2 separate regions of the Homo sapiens genome follow, and region 1 is linked to region 2. The links are contacts of gene promoters, found by promoter capture Hi-C in blood cells and fetal thymus (Javierre and others, 2016). All regions are on one chromosome and are shown on one strand. Each heading gives the region's core, a stretch centred on a gene start or on the middle of the fragment in contact. The rest is flanking DNA. Distances are from core to core; before and after follow the strand shown. Region 1 overlaps CR1 (complement C3b/C4b receptor 1 (Knops blood group)). Region 2 holds the start of EIF2D (eukaryotic translation initiation factor 2D).

Region 1 (4,711 bases), core at 452-2,951, 890 kb before region 2:
AAACTGAAGACCTACCATAATTTTAAAAGTTTTTATAGCTTTATCAAGATATATTACATACAATGATTGATGAGTATTTGAAGTGTACAATTCGATTACTTATAACATATGTATGCGTTGTGAAACCATCACCAAAATGAAGACAATAAACGTTTCCATCATACATCCCACCCACACAGAGTTCCCTCATGCCCTTCTGTAATCCATCCAAACATCCACTTCCTTCTCTAGGCAACCTTCAATGTGTTTTCTCTTACTACAGATTGATCTGACTTTCTAAAATTTCATATAACCCGAATCACTTCGTTTATATCCTATCATATAAAGGAAATAACTCAGGTGGTTTTCTCTTACTACAGATTGATTTGACTTTCTAAAATTTCATATAACCTAAATCACTTCATTTATATCCTATTGTATAAAGGAAATCACTCAGGTTTTTTTTTATGGTTTAGCCTTCACACAGCATAATTAGAGATCCATCTAGGTTGCTGCATGTATACAAATTGTTTCCTTTAGTTGCTGGGTAATATTCAATTGCATAAATATATCTTAATTTAGTTTATCCATTTACTTGTTGAGGGACATTTGGATTGTTTCCACGTGTTGGCTATTACAAACAAAACTGCTATGAAAATTCATGTACAAGTCTTTGTGTGGACATATGATTTCATTTCTCTTGGGTAAAAACCTAAGAGTAAAATGTTGAGTGTGTGTCTAAGGTTTTAAGAATCTGTTGAACTATTTTCTAAAGTTAATGTTATAATTTTACCTGCCAAATAGCAGTATATTATAATTCCAGTTACTCCACCTTATCGCCAACACTTGGCTCGGTCAATCTTTTTCATTTTAGTCATTCTAGTGGGTATGTATTGTTATCTCATTTCGGGTTTTGTCTTGTATGACTCAGCCCACTTTCACATTCTCCTGGTTCAGATATTCCATTCAAAGCAAGTTGATGTATTCTGTGCTATATGCACAATTAACACATCATCACTTTCATGTCTGTTGCAATATGAGCTGTCAACCCAAAGAACACTCTGCTTTCCATTCTGCATACTTACCCTTTAAGGAATAGATTTGCACTTGCTTTGCTTAGGCACCTCTATCAGTTTAAAAAAAGAGCATGCCCTTTCAAATATATAAATTTATAAATTATATATGTACACGAACATAAATTATATGCCTCAATATAAATTTTTGAAATGTAACACAGATAAAATAAATATTTTAAATGCTTTGTTAATCATCATGACTTAGCACAATCATTAGCTAACATCTAACGGGACAAAAAACAGTCACATTGAGTCTCTCTGTTCACAATAGTGAATGTAAAGCTTATTTCGACAGTCTTCATGATACTTTCTAGGTTTTTTGGTTTCATCGAGTTGTGATCAGTTGTGATTAGACTGACAGCATTTCTTCTACTTAATGCCTCTGACAAAAAATGTGTATACATGTGTCTTTGCGGAGAGGGTGAGAGGGATTGTCAACTCTACCATTTTCTTGTTTTCTGGAGTTGGTTTTATTACTGGGATCTTCACCCAGCATTTCTGTGTAGGACACTTTTGATGTTACCTGTCCAAATGTGAAGCTTATTTTAGATTAAAATAGATAATATAAATCACACATCCACTCATCTGAGCATATGTAAACCAAAATACACCACAAAGCACAGAAAGCAAATTGGAACTTCCCTTCTATCTTGCACCTTTACCTAGCAGGGATAACCAAACCAGATCCTATATGAGGACCACGTGAGGGCGCCAGAGTCCACCCTATATTAAACACTGCCTGGTAAAGCTTAATTCGTGTACTATTTTATGGCTCAGAATGTGGTCTATCCCCATGAATGTAAGCGGGAGAATATGTGCTCTGCTGTTGTGGATGAAGTCATCTATATATGTCAATTATACCCAAGTGGATTGATGGTGCTGTTGAATTCAAGTATGTCCTTACGGATTTTCTGCCTGCTGAATCTGCCCATTTCTGATAAGGAGACTTCAGCACCTTTTCTGATATCAGAAAGATATCATAGAAGTCTCCAACTATGATAGTAAATCCATCTATTTCTCCTTGCAGTTCTATGGGTTTTGCCTCACGTATTTTGTCTCTCCATCAGGTGCATACATATGGGATATTGTTACGTCTTCTTGGATAATTGGCCCCTTTATCATTATATGATGCCCCTCTTTATCCCTAATAATTTTTCTTGGTCTGAAGTCTGCTGTGTTTGAAATTAACACAGCTATTCCTGCTTTCTGTGACTAGCATTAGCATGGTATATCTTTATCCATTTACTTTTCATATATATTGTCTATATTTAAAACGGTCTTGTTGTACACAGTATATAGTTGGGTCTTGTTTCTTGATCCACTCTGATGATCTGTTTCAAATGGTGCATTTCGATCATTGACACTCAAAATGATTGTTGATATAGTTGCTTTAGTTTTGTTACTGGTTTTTATTTGTTGCTTTTTTTCTCTTGTTCTCTGTTTCTATTTTTTGTCTTCCATTCTTTTCCTGCCCTTTATTGTTTTTTGTTTTGTTTGTTTGTTTCTTTTTTTTTTTTTTTTGATTTGGAGTTGCGCTCTGTCACCCAGGCTGGAGTGCAATGGCACGATCTCGACTCACTGCAACCTCCGCCTCCCAGGTTCAAGCGATTCTCATGCCTCAGCCTCCCGAGTAGCTGGGACTACAGGCACCCACCATCATGCCCTGGTAATTTTTGTGTTTTTGTAGAGACAGGGTTTCACTATGTTGGCCAGGCTGGTCTTGAACTCCTGACTTGAGGTGATCCACCCACCTCAGCCTCCCAAAGTGCTGGGATTATGGGCATGAGCCACTGTCCCCAGCCATCTTTATTGTTTTAACTGAGCATTTTATATGATGCAATTCTCTCTTACTTATTAACATATAAATTATAGTTCTTTTTTTCACATTTTTCAGGGGTTGTCCTACATTTGCAATATCTATTTGCAGCTAATCTAAGTCCTCTTTCAAATAGCACTATACCACTTTACGGGTACTGTGAGTAACTCATAATAACAAAACAATCCTAGCTCCTCTGCTATTTTTTGTCGTATGCAATCTGTTTCTAGATTCACTCTTTAAGTGCTAGTAAAGCCATATACCTTTCACTCATCCTTTCCTGATCATAGGAGTTGAGATTTCTCGCTTTTCGGTGATCCTGCAGTCTTGCACGACTTCTTAGTCATGGTTTTTCAGACATGCATGGGGGTTTTCAGATTACAAAACACTGTCACATGCATTACACCATCTGATTTTCAAAACGTCTCTCTCAGAGATCAGGATGTCAGTTGTGCTCATTTTATACATGTGGACACTGAAGGTCAGTGATGTGACTTAACTTACTGGGTCCAAGACACCAGCTGGTAAGTAGCAGAGGCTGGAAAAAGCAGAACGCTGGCTTCCTAATAAGTAGATTTCATAAAACTCCACCACCTACTTCTATATGCATACACTTTGGGTGCAGAGCTCTTATACTTCTTTAAAATTCCAAAGGACCGTGCACACTGGAAGCATCCATCAGCATTTTAAAATTTAAATTATGTCAGCAACAAAATTTCTAGGTAGTTTAGTTTAGGCTGTTTCACATTTGGAAGTTATTGTGATAACCTCAGTAAATTTTTTTTTTGCAATTAATAGTGTCTGGGATTGTTTATAACAGTAACTTAATCAACATAGGCTAAGTAAAACAACATTCTAGTAAGAAGAGGGCCAGTACTCCCAAAGATGACACAAATTCCTAAGCGTTGACAACAGATTGCTTAACTTACTGGGCATGCTTCTCTCCTAAAAATAAGATTGTACGTTTTATCACATCTCTGCACCTGACAGGTTACTTTCTGGTGCCTAAGGAGATCAAATATTAATAACAACTCTTGCGGGACTTGGTTCTACTTTATTTTATTTTATTTACTCTTTTAGAGAAGAAGGAACACTCAAATAATGAATGTAAAATGTCTAGTGGCAGAGAAGGGCGAACCCGGAGTTGTCAGGAATAGGCTGGACAAAAACAACCAAGACTGTCACTTCAAATGAGATGTTGCCAGTGAGTCTAGGCAACCAAGAAGACTTCTGGGGAGCCGAAAAATAATAATAGAAGGGTTCTAACTGAAGATGTTTACCTATTTGAAGTTAAGAAAAAGGAAGAGATGTGGCCTCAAAATTTCCATAATAATTATAATAGGCGTTATTTTGTACTAAACACATCACTAAAATGCGAACTGTAAACATATCTACTGTCCCTTCTACCTGCAACGGTTACATTGCATGTTCTGGGGCTTCCCTTGCTCTTCTAATCCGCAAGTGCCTGGCATGCATCTGTCTTAAAGTATGCTGTCAATTAAGTGCATGGTGATGATGGCCGTGGTGGCTTGGTGTGGGGGGCGAGGACAGTTCCATGCGGGGCAGTTGTCAGGTAACACCTGCATCCCTAGGACTGCTTGTCTAAACACCATTGGGAGCAAAGTACAGAGGTAACGGTTGGGGGATAGAAATGGACTCGGGGACACATAGCCCTGTGTTAGATACTCGACAGGCTTAATGCCACTGAGGCAGCAACTCCACGATGCAGAGATACCAGTGTCCCCATTTTACAGAAGAGCAAACAGACTCAGGTGTGCTAAGTTGCCTCACAGTTAAGTTTCTAGGACCAGAACTCAGGTTTGTCGGATCCCCAAGTTCC
Region 2 (5,210 bases), core at 1,134-3,633:
ACCCACCAGTGGGGAACAGTCTGGGAGCCCTGTGGGGTGGCTCTGGAGCTGCTGATGGAAGGCACAGGAATCAGGGCTTGCTGAACTTAAGGTTCAGGCTGCTTTCCCTGCAATAGGGTCAGCCAGCAGGGAGCAGGCAGGTCTGTGATGCAAGCAGAGAAGGTGGGATTGTGCCCACTGGGGAAGGGGGCTCTTGCTCTACCAAAGAGGAGGCTGGATGCCATGGTGCAGAATCCTCTGGGGTCTTGGCTCCTACTTGTCAACCACTAATTAATTTTTAGGTTTACAATTGATGTTTTCTTATCCAAGGACATCTGGTATACAAAAGTTCCCCTAGCTTAAAATGTTTAGTATTCTCTGAATAGCTTTCCTCTGTTCCCTAAGAAAGAGGCTTCCTCAGCAGCTGTGCTGCAAAAGACCCCAAATGTATTGCACATCCGAAGAGTGGCTAAGTGGGAGGTGAAGGGTGGGTACAGGGGTCTGTTGTAGGCACTGTCCTCCTCTGGGCTCCTTTGACATTGGCCTGGTGGCTGGGATACTTCAGAATAAAGGCCTAGTGGGTCACAGGTTTAGGAGGAGTTGGGGCTGGTCCCTAGGCCACTATAGGTGGTGGGCAAACATTGTAGAAGGCCTAATGTTTAGAAAGCCAGTGTGGAATTCTCCTTTGTGCAACTGCGTCACTGAATCAATTGGGATTTTTTATTGGTGAATGGACACTTGGAAGTTTTAATATGCAAAACATAATTTACTTTTATTACTTAAATTGCTTAATGTAATTTTAATATGCAAGACTTAATTTACGAAGAGCCAGGATTCCGGGTGTTTAAATCCTTGTCTCCAGGGAACACAGCTGTCCCTTTGAGGAAAACCTAATTTCTCTTCCCTGCCTGTGTGACTTTGGGACAAATCTGGGACAACAGTGAATTCTCTATTACTGTTATTACCACCCAAGTAAACTAAAAATCCGGGATGAGAAAAATCTTACAGAAAATTCTAGCTGAGGCTTCTAGCTTATAGTACAATGAATAGACCTTAATCATAGAATGCCTTTAAGAAAAACATTTAGGCCCGACTTGGTGGTTCACACCTGTCCTGTAATCCCACCACTTTGGGAGGCCGAGGCGGACAGATCTCTTGACCTCAGGAGTTTGAGACCAGCCTGGGCAACAAGGTGAGATCCTGTCTCTACAAAAAATACAAAAATTAGCCTGGTGTGGTGGTGCCCGCCTGTAGTCCCAGCTACTCGGGAGGCTGAAGCGGATGGATCGCTTGAGCCCGGGAGGTGGAGGCTGCATTGAGCTGAGATTGCGCCACTGCACTCCAGCCTGGGTGACACAGCGAGACCCTGTCTCCAAGTAAACAAAATAAAATAAAATAAAGAAAAATATTCAAAAAGCCCTCGAGGTTTTTTTGTTTGTTTGTTTGATTTTTTTGATACGGAGTCTTACTCTGTTGTCCAAGGTGGGGTGCAGTGGCACAATCTCGGCTCACGGCAACCTCTGCCTCCTGGGCTCAAGCGATCCTACCGCCTTAGCCTCCCCAGGCATGCGCCACCACACCCGGCTGAATTTTTCTTTTTTCTTTTCTTTTTTTTTTTTTTTTGAGACGGACTTTCACTCTTGTTGCCCAGGCTGGAGTGCAATTGTGCAATCTCGGCTCACCACAACCTCTGCCTCCCGGGTTCAAGCAATTCTCCTGCCTCAGCCTCCCGAGTAGCTGGGATTACAGGCATGCTCCACCATGCCCGGCTAATTTTGTATTTTTAGTACAGACAGGGTTTCTCCATGTTGATCAGGCTGGTCTCGAACTCCCGACCTCAGGTGATCCGCCCACCTCGGCCTCCCAATTCTTTTTCTTTCTTTCTTTCTTTCTTTTTTTTTTTTTTTTTTTTTTTTTTTATTTTGTATTTTTTATGGAGATGGGGTTTCGCCATGTTGCCCAGGCTGGTCTCGAACTTCTGGGCTTAAGCGGTCCGCCCGCCTCGGCCTCCCAAAGTCTGGGATAACAGGCTTGGGCCACCGCGCCCGGCCGAAGCCTGAACTGTTTATCAGTTCAATTATTTTTGCGGAATTGAACCGAACCGAATGGAATGGGAGCTTGCAGAGAGCTTCTACTCAAAGCAGTTCCTAAGGTTGATGGGGTGGAAGGAAATAAACAGAACAGCTATTGGCGTGGCCGAGTCGCTACGGACGGGGAACCCGAGCCGCTCGCGCAGGCGCAGAGCCAGGCCCGCGAGGGGATGGGAAGGTGGGGGGGAGGGGCGTTCCCTGGGCCCTGCCCCTCCCTGCCCTGCTTTAGTTCCAGGTACCGCCACTGGGGGCGGCCGCGGCCTCCCCAGCGGCAACGGCCACGAAGCTGCGCGGCCCTGGTTTCCAGCCGGGCCCTTTTCGCGGCCGGGCCCCAGCATGGCTGCCCCCACGGCTGAGGGCCTGGCAGCTGCTGCGCCCTCGCTTTCTTGACATTCCCTGGCTTCTGTGCTCTCTTCCCCAGGCCACCCCAGCAGACATGTTTGCCAAGGCCTTTCGGGTCAAGTCCAACACGGCCATCAAGGGGTCGGACAGGTGAGGGAGGAAAGGGGCCTGCTCTGCCACGGAACAACCAGACACCTCTTGGGCCCCGCTGGCCCATAGCCCTCGCTATTCTTGGCCGACATCCTCGGGTGGAGGCCGAGGGGTATGCCAGGGAAGGGACCCCAGGAGGCAAGGGTGGGTTAGACACATTTTGAGGTGAGGATGGAGGGGGACCTGGCTCTCTTTTGGATAGTCTAGTGAGTTTAAAAGAAAACGTAGTTAAGTCAGAGTTTACTGACTGCAGACTATTTAAGGTGTTGTGGAGAATGCAGAAGTGAAGGAATACAGAATTCTTGCCCTCCAAAGAGCTTAATGCCCCTTGGGAGAGATCGGATGGGATACCAAGAATTAAAAGTATAAGAGAAAAAAATGACTAGTGATTAATTCTGGCAGGAGAGACAGCTGGAAACTGAGGTGGGAGGGAATAAGGCACATGTGGTAAGAAGAACTGTATCTGTTCAGACAGGGTCACAAATGGAGATTGTGTTTGGAATTTTGTAACCAGTGCTTTATAGTTGTCTATAGGTCTCATGGCATAGTTATTTAATCATAAACTGGCATATTTGCGAAGCATGTATGAGAAAGGAGTGGGCCCAAGGGCTAGGCATGAAGTCAGGAAGGCAGGGCTGTTTCCTGTGTCAGGCTAACTTGGATTGTTCACTGGGCCTGTTTTCCCACCCATAAAATGGGAAGGCATACCCCAGGAATGAGTGAAAATAGATGACAATGGATGAAAAAGAGTTTAGGATGTTTCAGAAGAGTGTGTGTGAGACTAGGACATCATAAACCAGGCAATCTTTCTTTGGCCCTTGTGATTTTATAGTGAGCACTTTTGAGTTCGTTCTTGATATTTATTAAAAGTCTGTCCAGGCAGCATTCACAGTGCTGGTGTGCTTTCCACAGGAGAAAGCTTCGAGCTGATGTGACAACTGCTTTCCCCACCCTTGGAACTGATCAAGTCTCTGAGTTAGTACCTGGAAAGGAGGAGCTCAACATTGTGAAGTTGTATGCTCACAAAGGGGATGCAGTGACTGTGTACGTGAGTGGTGGTAACCCCATCCTCTTTGAACTGGAGAAAAATCTGTATCCAACAGGTATGACAACAGGACGAAGATGGCCATTACCATTAGGTAGTTCTTGCCTAACATCTGCTTCTCTCTGTTTCTTCCATTGTCTCCCATAAAATAAGCAAGCACGAAATCTCCCAATACCATCCCCAAGGATCTTTATGGACCTGGTGTTCCTAGAATTGGGTCTTTCAATTCTAGGATGCAAAAGGTTTTCTCTTATGCAAAACCACTATAGGAGGGATTAAAAAAAGGGCTGACATAGTAAGTAAGGGTGGTTGCAAAGGGAAGTTCTGAGATGAAGGAACAGTGGCTGAGAAGTTTACAGTGGGTTGACTAGGAATAGAGCAGAGGTCTTGAAAAGGATGGAATTTCAGGGCATGTCTTCATGAGACAGAGTCTTGCTCTGTTGCCCAGGCTGGAGTGCAGTGGCGCAATCTCAGCTCACTGCAAGCTCCGCCTCCTGGGTTCACACCATTCTCTTGCCTCAGCCTCCCGAGTAGCAGGAACTACAGGCACCCGCCACCACACCTTGCTAATTTTTTGCATTTTTTAGTAGAGACGGGATTTCACCATGTTAGCCAGGATGATCTTGATCTCCTGACCTCATGATCCGCCCGCCTCGGCCTCCCAAAGTGCTGGAATTACAGACGTGAGCCACCGCGCCTGGCCAAAAATATATATATTTTTTAGAGACAAGGTCTTACTCTGTCACCCAGGCTGAAGTGCAGTGGTGTGATCGTAGCTAACTGTAACCTCAACCTCCTGTGCTTAAGGGATCCTCCCACCTCAGCCTCCTGTGTAGCTGGGACTACAGGCATATGCCACCATGTCTGGCTACGTTTAAAATTTTTGGTAGAGACAAGGTCTCACTATGTTGCTCGGGCTGGTCTTGAACTCTTGAGCTCAAGTGATTTTCCTGCCTCAGTCTCCCGAAGTGTTGGGATTACAGGCATGAGCAGGGTGCCCAGCCTAAAAAATGTTTCTTAAAACTATCTGTAGCAGGATTTTCCTAAAATACTGAAAAGATATACTGTGATAGGAATAAAGCTGGATTGATAAGCTACATATCCAGCTGTTTTCATGGTGTACTTTAACCATAGGTCTCACAGGGATTTTTTAGGCTATGAGTGGCTCTCTAGGATTCTTTGCCTTCTCTGTCACAAATCTCAGGGACTCAGTCTCCTTTTCTCTTTTCCATAGCTGCTGACACCTACTTTGTAACTTGGGGCTTTTCATCCTCCAGGGTTGTCTGCAATAGTGCAATGCAATATCCTTAGGCCACTCCTGCCCCTGATCTCACTTCCTTGCTGTACCTGAAGACAACCACAATGCTTTTTGACCTAGGGGTTTTTGCTGCTAATCACTATGGAAACAGAGGGGATAAAAATGATAAACATGGGAAAGTTTCCAAATTTTATACAGCTGGCTTCCTGTTCTTAGGCTACTTGCTTCTGAAGCCGTAAATAAAAGCTTCATTGGTTCTCTGCCCTCACTTTTTTGTCCACTGTGACCATTTTCTGCTGCTGCAATCCGGATGCCTCCAAATCTCAAGTGACACTCAGTTTCTTAG

The links. The method cuts DNA at HindIII sites, captures the fragments that hold promoters and counts their contacts. A CHiCAGO score of 5 or more calls a contact.
Region 1: a contact is called between a fragment that was not itself captured here and the fragment with the promoter of EIF2D in region 2, in 3 of 17 cell types (fetal thymus, endothelial precursors and total B cells). The highest score is 7.2, in fetal thymus.

Annotation. Positions count from the first base shown.
Region 1 is chr1:207,496,743-207,501,453 of GRCh38, reverse strand. The region is part of intron 1 of CR1 (complement C3b/C4b receptor 1 (Knops blood group)); the gene reads right to left. Among named protein-coding and RNA genes, the nearest start is that of CR1, 2.9 kb to the right of the region's middle. RefSeq lists an enhancer at 1,835-1,894. The HindIII fragment of the contact is 209 bases long and covers 1,597-1,805 here.
Region 2 is chr1:206,609,638-206,614,847 of GRCh38, reverse strand. EIF2D (eukaryotic translation initiation factor 2D) reads left to right here and starts at 2,383. Exons shown (of 15, transcript NM_006893.3): 1 at 2,383-2,561; 2 at 3,474-3,664. The coding sequence starts at 2,506. RefSeq lists a silencer at 2,121-2,330 and enhancers at 2,621-2,690, 5,101-5,160, 5,201-5,210. The HindIII fragment of the contact is 3,738 bases long and covers 1-3,482 here.